Regions from separate parts of the Homo sapiens genome. Here region 1 is linked to region 2. The links are contacts of gene promoters, found by promoter capture Hi-C in blood cells and fetal thymus (Javierre and others, 2016). All regions are on one chromosome and are shown on one strand. The core of a region is centred on a gene start or on the middle of the fragment in contact, and the rest is flanking DNA. Distances in the headings are between cores, read along the strand shown. Region 1 overlaps PARVB (parvin beta). Region 2 holds the start of SAMM50 (SAMM50 sorting and assembly machinery component).

Region 1 (6,810 bases), core at 1,873-4,372, 130 kb before region 2:
GGCTGGGAAGAAAGTTTGAAGCCGAGAAGCGGAGGTTGCAGTGAGCCAAGATCACGCCACTGCACTCCAGCCTGGGTGACAGAGCCAGATCTTGTCTCAAAAAATTAAAAAGAAAAAGAAAAAGAAAAAGAAAACCATGTTGCAGAACAATACAGCAAAGGCTGGGTGTGGTGGTGTACATCTGTTGTCCCAGCTACTTGGAGCTGGGGTGGGAGGATCACTCGAGCCCAGGGGTTCAAGTCCAGCCTGGGCAACATGGTGAGACACTTTAAAATAAATACAGCATGATATTTATGTAAAAAATACAACTAGAAAACTCACCACTATGTATTTCTATGTGTACGTATCAAAATTCACAGAAAAAGAAATGAAAGGGCATGCTCCAGAATGACAAGAGCAGCATTACTGATGCAAGGCCCAGTGGCTGAAGGTAAGGAGGAGACAGAGGGAGGCTCTGCCACCAGACTGTGTTCTTGTACTCCTTTTGAAATAAAAATAAAGCTACAAGAATGGAAAATAAACAGATGTCCTGGCAGGGTTATGTACAGGGTGCAGTGGGGACCCTAAAGGAAACAAAGTGGCAGCCAATTCTACAGGGAAGGACACACACTGGGTTCAACCATAGAAATGGCTCTGAGACCCAGAAGGAGTCTCGGGCCTCTCCCGGCAGCACTGGCTGCCTCGGGGGACACAGTGAGCTACCCTGAAGGAGGGAGGAAGCTGGGGAGGGAAAGTCCTGCACGGTCCCATCCCCACAGATGACTGCAGAATAATAACATGACTCTGAGACTATGGGTGACAGCAAAGGCCCTGGCATGAGTGTCTGTGCCAAGAACGCAGCGGAAAGAACCAAGATGCCAGACCTGGGAGTACCCTTGGCAGGCTCACATCTCGTGCCCTATTCTTGGATTGGCCAGTGGGGCTTTCTCACCAGGATGGCCACCTTGGCCCCTGCAAGCCCTGCCCTAAACTCTTCCCACCCCAGCCCAGCCTCTCCCCTTCTGGAGGTGACTGTTATGGACACCATTGCTTTTCTTCTCCAGCATCCATTGATCCTTTCAGGCAAACAAGACTCAGCCTCCCTCAGAGAGAGCCACCCCTCCTGCCACCATGCTCGGGCCTTGTAGTTCAGCTCTGGGGTGGAGCAGGCATCCCAGGACAAAGCCAGCTGGCACACTGGCCTCCCAGGAACACAGTCAGGGATGGGCATGGCCCAGTTAGAGCTAATGAACTGCACTGAGACTTTACCAGGAATAGAGAATGAGACAGGCACTCCTTCCCACTGGCCTTGACCCAGAAAGGATGGAGGTTGAAGCCGTCCCATCATCTTACCACTATACAGAGCCTGGAGATGAAGGCACCAGATCGAAAGAGCTCGGGGAAGGGGAGAACAGAATCTAGGATCTAGCAACACCTTCTATGTGCTGGATCAAGCCTTACCTGAGGCCATCCAACCCCACAGACCATTCTGTCAAATGTACCAGTGAATTCTGTTTTGCTTTTAAGCCATTTTGAGTTGGGTTTTCTGTCCTTTGCAAACCAAGAGAGTCCTGTCTGATGTAGAAATCCTTCCAATACACAAAGCTGGCGTTGGTCACTCCCTGCTGCAGTGCACCCCATGGCTCCCACCAGCTCCAGGGTAAAACGCAAAACCTTCATAGTGGTACCCGATGACTGTTAATGAGCAGACCCCTCCTCTCATCAATACAGCTGCAGTTACCATGCTTCCACACTCATCGTCTGATGAGGCCATTCCAGGCCACTTCTGTAGGTCATATCTCTGCCCCTCTGCTCGACTGTCCCCACAACCTGCAATGCCCTTCACTTCAGGTCAGCTAGCTCCACCCATTTCCCACCGTCTGGAAAGCACACTCTGCACATCCTCTATCCCTGGGTGCAGTTCGGGCCCCTCCTCTGGGTTTCCACAGCTCCCCGTGCACATGACAATGACAAACCCTATTCCCCGATCATGTGATTGTGGACTGTGCTCATCTCCCTGCACCCCCCGACCCCGCAAGGAGTGCACAGGGGCCAGGTCCCATTCATGACCATGGCCTCACATCCTGCATAAAACCCAGCACATGGATAACTGCTCTCTGAATATCTGTGGAATGAATGAATGAATGAACACAAATGCTAAGCTTATGTAGGCCAAATGGAGCTACATAGATAATTTCTACAAGAGAAAGTCAGGGAACTGAACTGACGGCTCTCACACAGCATCCCACCTCCAGCCACTTAATTGGGTGGAAAAAGAGGGTTTCCATTAAGGTTTACATTAGCCTGGCAGTCGTGTTTCACAAGGAACCCAATTACCCTGATGTGGCCACGTAGAGGCTGATGGGCTCAGGAGGAAGGAGTCCGCTCCGCAATTAGGGACTTGCTAGTACAAGCAGCCCAGGAGCCAACATCCCCCCAGCCTCACCTCCTGGGGTGTGCATTCCGACCAGCCACCTGCTGCAGGAATCTGAAATACAGACCACCCCGAGATGGAAGGAGTCCATCTGGCTCAGGGAAACTGGGTCTTCTGAATACGAAAAGTTGCTTACATAGAAATGTAAAAAAAGCTCCGAAGCCCATGTTAAACAGATGATTCCCTTGGCCCAGAAACACGGTCTTTTCTTCCCCTTTGTCCCTGGGGTGATCAGGAAAATGTTAGAACCACAGAAAAATGAATCCTTTGTGGGAAGGAGAACAGGAAGAAAGACTTCCAGGTGCACGGTAAAATGTCAGGTTGGCCGTCTAACCCACCTGGGCGAGAAACCGGGGCATGGAGGGGCCGGTGAGCTTCTTGTCTACAAAGGAGGACACATTCTTTAGAGACAATGATGATCTGATTGGTTTCTCAGACTGAAAGCCACATGAGTCAGTTTTTGTTTTTTGTTTTTTGTTTTTGTTTTTGTTTTTGAGACGGACTCTTGCTCTGTCGCCCAGGCTGGAGTGCAGTGGCTCGATCTTGGCTCACTGCAACCTCCACCTCCCAGATTCAAGCGATTCTCCTGCCTCAGCCTCCTGAGTAGCTGGGATTACAAGTGTGCACCACCACACCCAGCTAATTTTTGTATTTTTAGTACAGATGAGGTTTCACTATGTTGGCCAGGTGGATCTCGAACTCCTGATTTCAAGTGATCCACCTGCCTCGGCCTCCCAAAGTGCTGGGATTACAGGCACGAACCACCGCACCTGGCCAACTTCTTTAATTCCTCCCTTCAATTGCCACCCTTCCGGAGCACGGGAACCTACCGCCCAGTGCCCCCACCTTGCGGTGCACAGTGGGATACACATCCCCAAAGCCAGCCTCCCCCGCCCCAAAAAAGAGCTACCCCATTTGCCTCCCGTTTTCTCGGCCCCTCACCCTCAGCTCCAGTGCCCAGCAGCCACTGCCTCCTGACCACTCTCATCCTAATTCCTTAGCAAGTCCTTCGACGCAAGCCTCTGCCTCTGTGATTTTCAGAGGCTGCGTCTGTCACATTTCTCCAACCCATCACGCTGGCTTTCAGGGGGTACTTCCAAATGATTTCAGTCACTGGTCATGAAATCTGTCATTAGCTAATAATAAGAAGAAAAGAGCCTCGAGGCAGCAGAAGGTGGGGGCAGGGTGTGAAACCCAAAAGAAACAATTCTCAGAAGAGGATGCCAACCTTTCCCCTGGCGTGTGTCACCGTCACCGCCCCTCCGAGCCCAGCCACTTGCCAGCAAGCTGCACAATGAGCCCCACCGAGGCGGGGGGCAATGGAACCCGCTGCTCACTTCCAGCAACAGACGAGCCCCATGAGACTGCCAGGCTCTTAGAGAAACGCACTTCATAAAGGAAAGCAGAAACGGCCGTGCAGAAGCTAAGTCTGGAGAAGCACGTTCGCTGGTTCCCAAGTTGTGAAACTCGTATTAATTAATGTGACTGGTAACGTCCCAATGTATCCAGGGAAGTCCAAAGCGTTGTCTGCTGAGAAAATAAGAAGATTAAATCATTAAGTCGTTAGAAAAAGAAAGGCTTTACTATGCACCTGCCATGGAAACGGGGATGTGGGAAAGGCCAGAAGGACAGTGCCCTCTAGCGGCTGTCTCCCCTGCAGAAGTGACACAGATGCCTCCATGAAAGCTTCCCCCAACAGGAGGACCCGGCCTGCTTCGGAGACAGGCCCCTTCCAAAAGCAGGTGGATTTGGGGAGTGCTGGAAGCCATTGGCCTCTGGTGCTGGCAGCTCAGTTCCCACCTGAGATACTCAAAGAACCACCATGGCACTGCCTTGGGCCCCACCGGGCACAGACAACTCTACCCATCAGGAACAGATGCAATGCCCACAGCAGAAAAGGAGAAAGGCCTTCACGGCCCACAGGGGTCCCCACACCCCTGCTGGAGACTGCACCTTTGGAGGAACAGCCCCAAACAAGGGATGGAGGGATGACGGCAGGTGGAGAGTCACTCCATGACCCCACAAAGCAGGTCAGGTTCCCCACTCCCCGCATCCATTCCCCTTCCTCTCCTTTCGAGGCACTATTAGTCTAAGGCACATCTGTGCTACAGGATTTGCGTCTACAGTGCTCTGAAAGGACAGATGCATGGCCTGCTCTGTCTCCCCTGCTCCCAACATGACGCCTGGACTGAGGCAGGTGCTCCGTGAACACTCGGTGAATTCATGAATGAATGAATCAGGGTTTCGGGACTCTACCATTCTCTCTACTGCAGTGTCTCCTGTAAAAACTCAAAGGATGTACTTTCTACTCCATCTGTCACTGTCTCTATGGAAGGCTGGATCTTGGTCCCTGCAAAGATGTCCACATCAAGTCCCAGGAAACTGTGACTTTGCATGGCAAGAGGGAGTTTGCAGATGTGATTAGGTAAGGACCTTGGGGTGGGAGATTAGCCTGGATTATGCAGGGGGCCCAATGTGATTGACAGGGTCCTTACAAGAGGAAGCAGGAGGGCCAGAGCCAGAGGAGGTGTGGCGAAGGAGACAGAGAAAGATCGGGAGATGGCTTTGAAGACAGAGGAAGAGGCCAGGCACTAAGGAACGCAGGTGCCTCTGCAAGTTGGAAAAGGCAAGGAATGGGATTCTCCCCTGGAGCCTCCGGAAGGAACCGGCCCTGCTGCCACCTTGATGTTGGGACTCCTGACCTCCAGAACTGTAAAATAATAGATTTGTGTTGGTTTAAACCACTGGGTTTGTGGTATTTTGTCACAGCAGCCCTAAGTAAATTAACAGCCTCAAGAGAGCCCCAGCAACTCCACGTAATTTCAAAAAGCCTGGAACATTCTTTGCAGCAGTTTTACTGAGCCCTGCTCCACACCGGGTGCCCCCTGGCACAAGCGTTACTGAAACTGACATGGCTTTGTTCACGCAAGCAGAATGAATATTAAACAAGCACAGAGGACGCATCTGACCAACACTGTGGATAAAATCACAACTGGCCCTAAGGCTGCCGCGGGCCATTCTCCTGTGACACCAAGGTCTGAGGAGGTTGCCTCCTTATTAGCAAATCCGGAACAATGTTTTTTTTGAGAAGGAGTCTTGCTCTGTCCCCCAGGCTGGAGTGCAGTGGCACAATCTCGGCTCACTTCAACCACCACATCCTGGGTTCAAGCGATCCTCCTGCCTCAGCCTCCCAAGTAGCTGGGATTACAGGCGCCCACCACCATGCCCGGCTAATTTTTGTATGTTTAGTAGAGACGGGGTTTCACCATGTTGGCCAGGCTGGTCTCGAACTCCTGACCTCAAGTGATCCACCCACCTCGGCCTCCCAAAGTGTAATGTATTGTTTTCAATGTGCAAAAACAACTGGATGGCCTCACAGTCAGCACGACCTGAAGTCAGTTCTCCACCGGTGGCTTCTCAGAATGGCTTAGCACAGCAGCCGCTGGCTAAAGGGCTGAGTAAGGGGTCAGATTCCCTCACCCTCTGTCCTCCTCAGCCTGGGGATTTAATGGGTTCACAGGAAGTAGCCAGGGATGAGCTAACTGCTTGACGTTTTCAGACACAGCTGTGTCCCACAAACCTTGCTGTTCCTTGAGCCTGTGTCTCCTCTTTGTCCCCAAGAACACGTGACACAGATGGCTTCTCGATCCTGCTACTGTCCCTCCAATTACTGGCCTACCAGGTTCTCAGGCTGGAGCCCGGGCATTTTCAAACACAAGGATGGTGCACTAGCTCTTCTGCATGGACGTCATTCAAGTCACTAAAAACGGTGAATATCAGCCCAGATGTCAGCACCATCAGCCTCCTGGACCAAGCACACCCATCTATGGTGGACCAAGCACCAGGAGCACACCAGCAGGCTGGCAAAGAAGAGGACACACATTGCGGGAAACGTTGAGTGCTCAGTGAATTCATGAACGACTGAATCAGGGTTTGAGGACTCTACCATTCTCTCTACTGCAGTGTCTCTTGTAAAAACTCACAGGGGCCGGGCGCGGTGGCTCACGCCTGTTATCCCAGCACTTTGGGAGGCCGAGGCGGGTGGATCACCTTAGGTCAAGAGTTTGAGACCAGCCTGGCCAACATGGTAAAACCTCATCTCTATTAAAAATACAAAAAAATTAGCTGCACTTGGTGGTCTGCGCCTGTAATCCTAGTTACTTGGGAGGCTGAGGCAGGAGAATCGCTTGAACCCAGGAGTCAGAGGCTGCAGTGAGCTGAGATCTCGCCATTGCACTCCAGCCTGGGCGACAGAGTGAGACTCCATCTTAAATAAATAAATACTCAAAGGACCTATATTCTACTCCATCTGTCACTGCCTCTATGGAAGGCTGGATCATGGTCCCTGCAAAGATGTTCACATCAAGTCCCAGGAACCTGTGACTTCACATGGCAAG
Region 2 (6,910 bases), core at 3,229-5,728:
CATCTATTTTTCTATTATCTCTAAACCCTAAAGTCATTATAGGATTAATACCCTGTAAATATACTTTAATCAAAATATTAGTAACTGTGTTACTAATATTCATTCATTCACCAAATATTAAGATCCTACTGTGTGACAAGCACTTATAAGAACCTCACCCTCATAGAATGTACATCCCATAAATTCTATGCCTAGAATAATAGGCATGGGGTGAGTGTTTGGTAAAATGCGCTAAAATATATATTTGGGCTAGGCACAGTAGCTCATGTCTGTACCTAGCACTGGCACTTTGAGAGGCCAAGGCAGGAGGATCACTTGAGCCCAGGAGTTTGAGACCAGCCTGGGCAACATAGTGAGACCCTGTTTCTATTAAAAAGTGTGTGTGTGTGTGTGTGTGTGTGTGTGTGTGTGTAATATAAAAAAATAAAATAAATATTTGGATGTAGCCTTTAACCTTTAAGCAGATCGGTCTACCAGTCAGTCAATAAGTGTGTATTGAGCACCATGTGCAAGGCAGCGGGTATGGGACATGAAATGAATGAGTTATGAACAGCATCTTTAAAGTGAGATAGACTAGAATCCAAGAGAAAATATAACAACAGGCTGGGCACAGTGGCTCACACCTGTAATCCCAACACTTCAGGAGGCTGAGGCAGGCAGATCACCTGAGATCAGGAGTTCAGGACCAGCCTGGACAACATGGTGAAACCCCATCTCAGGTAAAAATACAAAAGTTAGCTGGGTGTGGTGGCACCTGTCTGTAATCCCAGCCACTCAGGGGGCTGAGGTAGGAGAATCGCTTGAACCCAGGAGGCAGAAGTTGCAGTGAGCCAAGATCACGCCACTGCACTCCAGCCTGGGAGACAGAGCAAGACTCCATCTCAAAAAAAAAAAAAAAAAAGAAAACTGAAAATATAACAATACATAACACATATTAAGTATTATTGCACAAAATTTTGTTTGACATAAGCATGAGTACTAGGTGGTAAATGGCAAATGTTTTCTTACTGTTTGAGTCTTGATCAAAAAGTCTGAAAGACACTGGCTAGTGGGATGAAAAAGTCAAATAAAAGAACTGAAAACGTTTTTTTCTCAAAACACTCATCAAAGCAGCAGCAATTTTAATGTAAAAAGAGCTCCACAGGCTAGGCGCAATGGCTCATGCCTGTAATCCCCGCACTTTGGGAGGCTGAGGCGGGTGGATCACAAGGTCAGGAGATTGAGACCATCCTGGCCAACATGGCAAAACCCTGTCTCTACTAAAAATACAAAAATTAGCCAGGTGTGATGGCACACGCCTGTAGTCCCAGCTACTCGGGAGGCTGAGGCAGGAGAATCACTTGAACCCGGGAGGCAGAGGTTGCAGTGAGCCGAGATGGCGCCACTGCACTCCAGCCTGGGTGACAGAGAAAGACTCCGCCTCAAAAAAAAAAAAAAAAAAAAGAGCTCCATAAAGGCAGATACTTTTTTCCCTGTATCCCTGGCACCTATCACAGTGCTAGGCACATAGCAGACCATCAATAAATATGAGCTGAATAAATAATGAGTGATTACTTTGTTCAAGATGCCACAGGGGATGCAAGCCAAGAAGATGCAGTTCCTACCATTACATCTAGAAATTTAGGATCAAAGGATAAGACGAAAATGCAAACAGACCCAAAACAAGCCAAAATGTAAATGGCACCAAAGGAAATGGCACGGAAAGGCGAAGCCCATCCAAATGCAGGGGATAAAGAACTTTCAGAACGGAGTTCTAAAAGATGGGAATATTTTGATGCTAAAGATGGATGATGGGAGGGGGAATGAAGTGCAATAGTGCGGTCCAAATAAAGCCATCCTCACAGGGCTAACAAGAATTCTGGACAAAGGCCAGGCGTGGTGACTCATGCCTGTAATCTCAGCACTTTGGAAGGCCGAGGCAGGCGGATCACAAGGTCAGGAGATCGAGACCATCCTAGCTAACAGTGAAACCCCGTCTCTACTAATACAAAAAATTAGCCGAACATGGTGGCAGGCGCCTGTGGTCCCAGCTATTCAGGAGGCTGAAGCAGGAGAATGGTGTGAATCTGGGAGGTGGAGCTTGCAGTGAGCCAAGACCGTGCCACTGCACTCCAGCCTGGGCACAGAGCAAGACTCTGTCTCAACAACAACAAAAAAAATTATTCTGGACATCTGGACAGAAATGTAGTTATAATTGGCTGGGCGCAGTGGCTCACACCTGTAATCTCAGCACTTTGGGAGGCCGAGGCGGGATGATCACTTGAGGTCAGGAGTTCAAGACCAGCCTGGCCAACATGATGAAACCCCCGTCTCTACTAAAAATACAAAAATTGGCTGGGTGTGGTGGCGTGCGCCTATAATCCCAGCTACATGGGAGGCTGAGGCAGGAGAATCGCTTGAACCTGGGAGGCGGAGGTTGCAGTGAGTGGAGATTGCACCATTGCACTCCAGCCTGGGCAACACAGTGAGACTCCATCTCAAAAGAAATGTAGTTACAATTAACCATTAATCAAGTTGCCTTTTTTTTTTCAAGAGCACAAATCCACATTGATTTATTGACTTTTCATTAGTTTAAATCCTTGAGGGGTACAGCATTACTCGGATTCTGTGTCCAACAGCCTTAGCAGGAAGATTGCTTCAGAATTTGGCACGAATCATGCCATTGTTTCTGTGGGCCCGAGTTACCTTTCCCCAGATTACTCTGGCTTTGTTTGATTTGCCGCCAGGAGTCACTATGTTGTTCTTTGCTTTGTATACATGAGCCCAAATAGAATTCTGTTTCATCTCGGGCATAAACACCTTCAATTTTAAGAAGAGCTGTGTGCTCCCTTTGGTTCCGGAGACTCCACTTATAGCCAGCAAAAATGGCCTTGGACCACAGCCTTCCAGACATATTTCCTTTCAGAAGTCCTGCTCCCGGCAGGCCGCCACAGGAGCCAAGATGGCAGGAAGAGCTCAGGTTGCACTCTGACCTACTTGCTAGTAACCAAAAGTCACAGATACTATTTGCATCCCCATTGATTTTACAGATAGGATTTCTAAAATTAGAATCATAAGGCTTTTGCTTAAGAGTTGCTTTAGATGTTTTTCAGATCTCGAATTCCAGCAAAACTGATGCTGCCAACCAGTTTGAAGACTCCTCCCCGCAACAGAGGAACGGAATCAGCATGAGAAGTTTCCTCATCTCCCTGTCCCATAACTTCACCCTTCACTCTTCCACCAATCAAGGATCTCCACACTTCAGCAAAAACATGAGGTCCAAACTCCTGAAGGAGATGGATTTGAGGTTTCCTCTCTTTTCCCATCTCCTCGTTCAGCGGCCCTGCAACTGAAACTCTTTCTCTGCTGCAACCCACTGTCTGAGTGTATTGACTTATCGAGCACACTGAGCAACAGACCTATTACAGTTACACAAAGAGATGTCAGAAGAGAAACGGTGTTTGATCTGAATGAAAGACATATAAAGGGAAGTTAAGTCCAATTATCGATGTCAGGCTGCGACTTCTGTGCTAAATTTTTTTGGAAGTTAATGGGGAACTACTGAAAACGTCTATGCAGGTCAAGTGAAGCAATCAAAGTTGCAGTAGAAAAGTAGTGTTGGGGCTGAGACTCAGGAAATCTGAGGTTTTAGGCCATTTGGAACCAGTAACTATGTGACCTTGGAGAAGTAACTCATTATCTGGCCCTTATTTAAGATTAGGATAAACGAGAGGAGTTTGGCAACCAGTACAGTTAGTCAGGCGCCAGGCACCCAAGTATTCACATGCATTGTCTTTTAATTCTCTTTTAAGCCAGGCGAGGTAGGTACTATTACTACCTCCACTTTAAAACAGGAAGTAAGGCAGAGAGCGGTTCCGTCTTTTGCACGGTAGACAGGAGAAAAGAGGACCCCTAGATAGGTTTGAGTTAGAAGACTTCAAAGGATTCTTGTTGCTCTAGGAGCCTACAATGGCTCCAGCAGCGGCTGAGCGGGGAAAGGCTGGAAGTGACCAGTAAAGAGAGAAAACTTAAAATCATGCAAAGAAAGAGCACATTCACTGCGGTCTAAGACATCACAGAAAGTTGGCAAGTCCTTTGGGCCACGGACTCGCCGAGTGACCTTTAGCCAAGTCTCGTCCCTCCTATCAGGTTCCTGCTCGAAGGTCTGCAAGACTCGCTGGCCCGAGGCGACCTCTTTTCGGCCTCCTCCACCCAGCCCGGCACCCTTGGCACCCTCTCTCCCGGTGAACCCTGGGCGCAGCCACGAGAGCGTCTCCCCGCGGCGCCCGTCTGCCCTGCTGGCCCAGAGGCCTCGCAGCCCGCGGGTCGCTGGGCCTCTTACCCGGGCGTGCACAGTCCCCATGGTTCCCTCTCCAGCCGCTGCCTCGCAGAGCTGCCCGGGCGGGACAGAGCGTCTGCTGCTGAGGGCAGAAGGCGGGTCCGCGGTGGCGGAGCTGCAGGTCAAGGCAACTCCCACAAACCCCCGGACGCGGAACACTGGGGGCGGCCATGATTCCCCGCCTTCTCCGCGCCCCCTGGCTCGCGATGCCTTCGCTCATTGGTCCTTATGCGCCTGTGACCCGGATGTTCACACGGCCGCGGAGGACGTTCTGACTGCGCAAGCGAAGAGCGTTCACTGACATCCGCGAAGCTGCTGGCGCGTGGACTGTGTGGGGAGGGCGCGTGGGGTGAAGGTGGGTCTGCGAGAGGGTCCGCTGGGAGGCTGGCGTCTGGCGTTGGCGCCTGAAAGAGATCAGACCAGCTGTTGGGTGTCACTCAAGTCCTGCTGCTCTTAGCCCTCCTAGCACCCCCGACCCGAGGGTGCTGTGCTTGTGCCCACGCGCCGGTGAAGCCCCGAGACTCAGCGGGGAGACCCCGGGTCCGGCCACCCCCGAGCTGCAGTAGTCGGGTCTCACCGGCATCTGCTACACAAACCCGGATTGGTGCCCTGGCTCCTTTCGTTCAAGTCATTGGAACCCCCACTCAAAATCGTCAAAATGAAGACGATGGTCGTGTCTCCTTCTTGGGGGTTGGATTAAAAGGGCCTAATGTGAGAGACGGAAAGCAAAGCTCCCGGCACCGGGCCGGGCACACGGTGGGCGCTAGATAATGACCGCTATTCACTCAACTGCAGCCAGTAATTATGGGCGAGGGCCATCTAGGTGCTTGCATGAGAACCAGTCATATCGGTGAAGAAGACGGCCATGGGCTTAGGTTTTGGTGGCAAAACAGCTCCCCTGCCCCAAAAAAGAAAAGAGAATAGAAAAGAAAAAGGCATAATAAATATCAGCCACACATTGTGATAAGTATATTGAAAGAAACGAGACAGAATAAGAAAAGAGGAAGCTTCAGTATCCTGTCACGTTGCCACTCCCTTCTGATAACAGAAGCATCTTTTCTTCTGTCCCCTTACTCCCTCCCAGAAACCCTGACACCCTTTCCATTTAAATAGCAGCACCCTAGGCCTCCAACATCCCTGAGCTAAATATTCAAGTCCACATGTCCCTTCTTGCCTGGAAAGAGACAGAACCCAGCACCAGCCAGGCCCCTGCCCTTCCCTCACTCTCAGTTCCCTGAGCCTCAATTCCTTATCTGTAAAATGGAAATGATAGCCTAAGGCATAAGGTCTGAGGACCTCATGAGATCAAGCATGGGGCCTGGCACTCTGTAAACATCGAATCAACCAGATTTTCTTTGCCCAAACAGCCCTCTTTTCTTACACTTTCTTCCTCGTTATTCTTCTGAGTATGCCACTTGTAAAGGATAAGCCATGAGGTTGCCCTGCAGAGTGCAAGATGGTTGCAATATTTGAGAGCCTATTGTGTGTGAGGCCCTGGAGGATGGCAGAGGGAACAGGAGGAAAACAAAGTCACATGCTTTACCCTCAAACAAAGGGCTGTCTGCGATAGTTACAATGTATATATTAAAGGCTATCTGTGATAGTTACAATGTATATAATATATTAAAGGCTGTCTGTGGTAGTTAACAATGTGTATATTAAAGGCTGTGATAGTTACAATGGGTATACTATATTAAAGGCGGTGGTAGTTACAATGTATATAATATATTAAAGGCTGTGATAGTTACAATGTACATAATATATTAAAGGCTGTGATAGTTATAATGTATATATTAAAGGCTGTCTGTGATGGTTATAATGTATATAATATATTGAAGGCTGTCTGTGATGGTTATAATGTATATAATATACTGAAGGCTGTCTGTGATAGTTAAGATGTATATATTAAAGGCTGTCTGTGATGGTTACAATGTATATAATAAAGACTGAGAAGTCTCACAGTGCATATACTGGTTTCCTTCTCTTTAACCCAGTATTTCTTGAATTTATTGGGTCATAGAGATTTTTGGTTTTGGAGATTTTTCTGTGGCCTCTGGCAATGCTATTCAACAGTATTTCTTGTGCTCCTCTTTTGGGCACAAGAGAGGATTGCATCTCCCTGCTCCCATCCATGTGACTTGCTTTGGTCAACACATTGTGAGCAGAAGAGAGATGTGCCACTCTGGATGAGAACCTTTAAGAACCATATTTCTCTAACCATGCCATGGCAATCAGCGATCCCCCAATGGTGGGGCACCTACAGGCTAGGTCTGGGAGTGAGGACGACTTAAAATGAAGCCCAGCCACATTTGCTGGACATACAGCACGAATGAGAAATAAACCTTTTGGGTTTTGCTTGTTAATGCAGCATAACTCAGCCTATCCTATATGATAATACCAGCTAGAAACATCTTCAAGGAAACCAGCATCCCAGAAAACCTGGTTTACAAAGTGCCAATCTTGTCCAATCAGAAGTAGAAGTGCAGTTTAGTGACTAAGCTAGTTTCCTTAATACAATCCAGGCTGAGTGCAATGGCTCATACCTATAATCTCAGCACTTTGGGAGGCCGAGGCAGGAGGATTGCTTGAGCC

The links. Contacts are between HindIII fragments. The CHiCAGO score rates a contact against its expected background, and 5 or more counts as called.
Region 1: a fragment that was not itself captured here is called in contact with the fragment with the promoter of SAMM50 in region 2 in 2 of 17 cell types (total B cells and erythroblasts); the score reaches 7.0 in total B cells.

Annotation. Positions count from the first base shown.
Region 1 is chr22:44,078,616-44,085,425 of GRCh38, reverse strand. All of the region lies in intron 1 of PARVB (parvin beta), which reads right to left. Among named protein-coding and RNA genes, the nearest start is that of PARVB, 58 kb to the right of the region's middle. The HindIII fragment of the contact is 1,958 bases long and covers 2,144-4,101 here.
Region 2 is chr22:43,953,010-43,959,919 of GRCh38, reverse strand. It overlaps SAMM50 (SAMM50 sorting and assembly machinery component), which reads right to left and starts at 4,478. Exons shown (of 15, transcript NM_015380.5): 1 at 4,322-4,478. The coding sequence starts at 4,342. It also overlaps the pseudogene RPL35AP36. RefSeq lists enhancers at 3,734-3,943, 3,749-4,500, 4,624-4,703, 4,784-4,833, 4,501-5,253 and a silencer at 4,386-4,660. The HindIII fragment of the contact is 6,277 bases long and covers 1-5,327 here.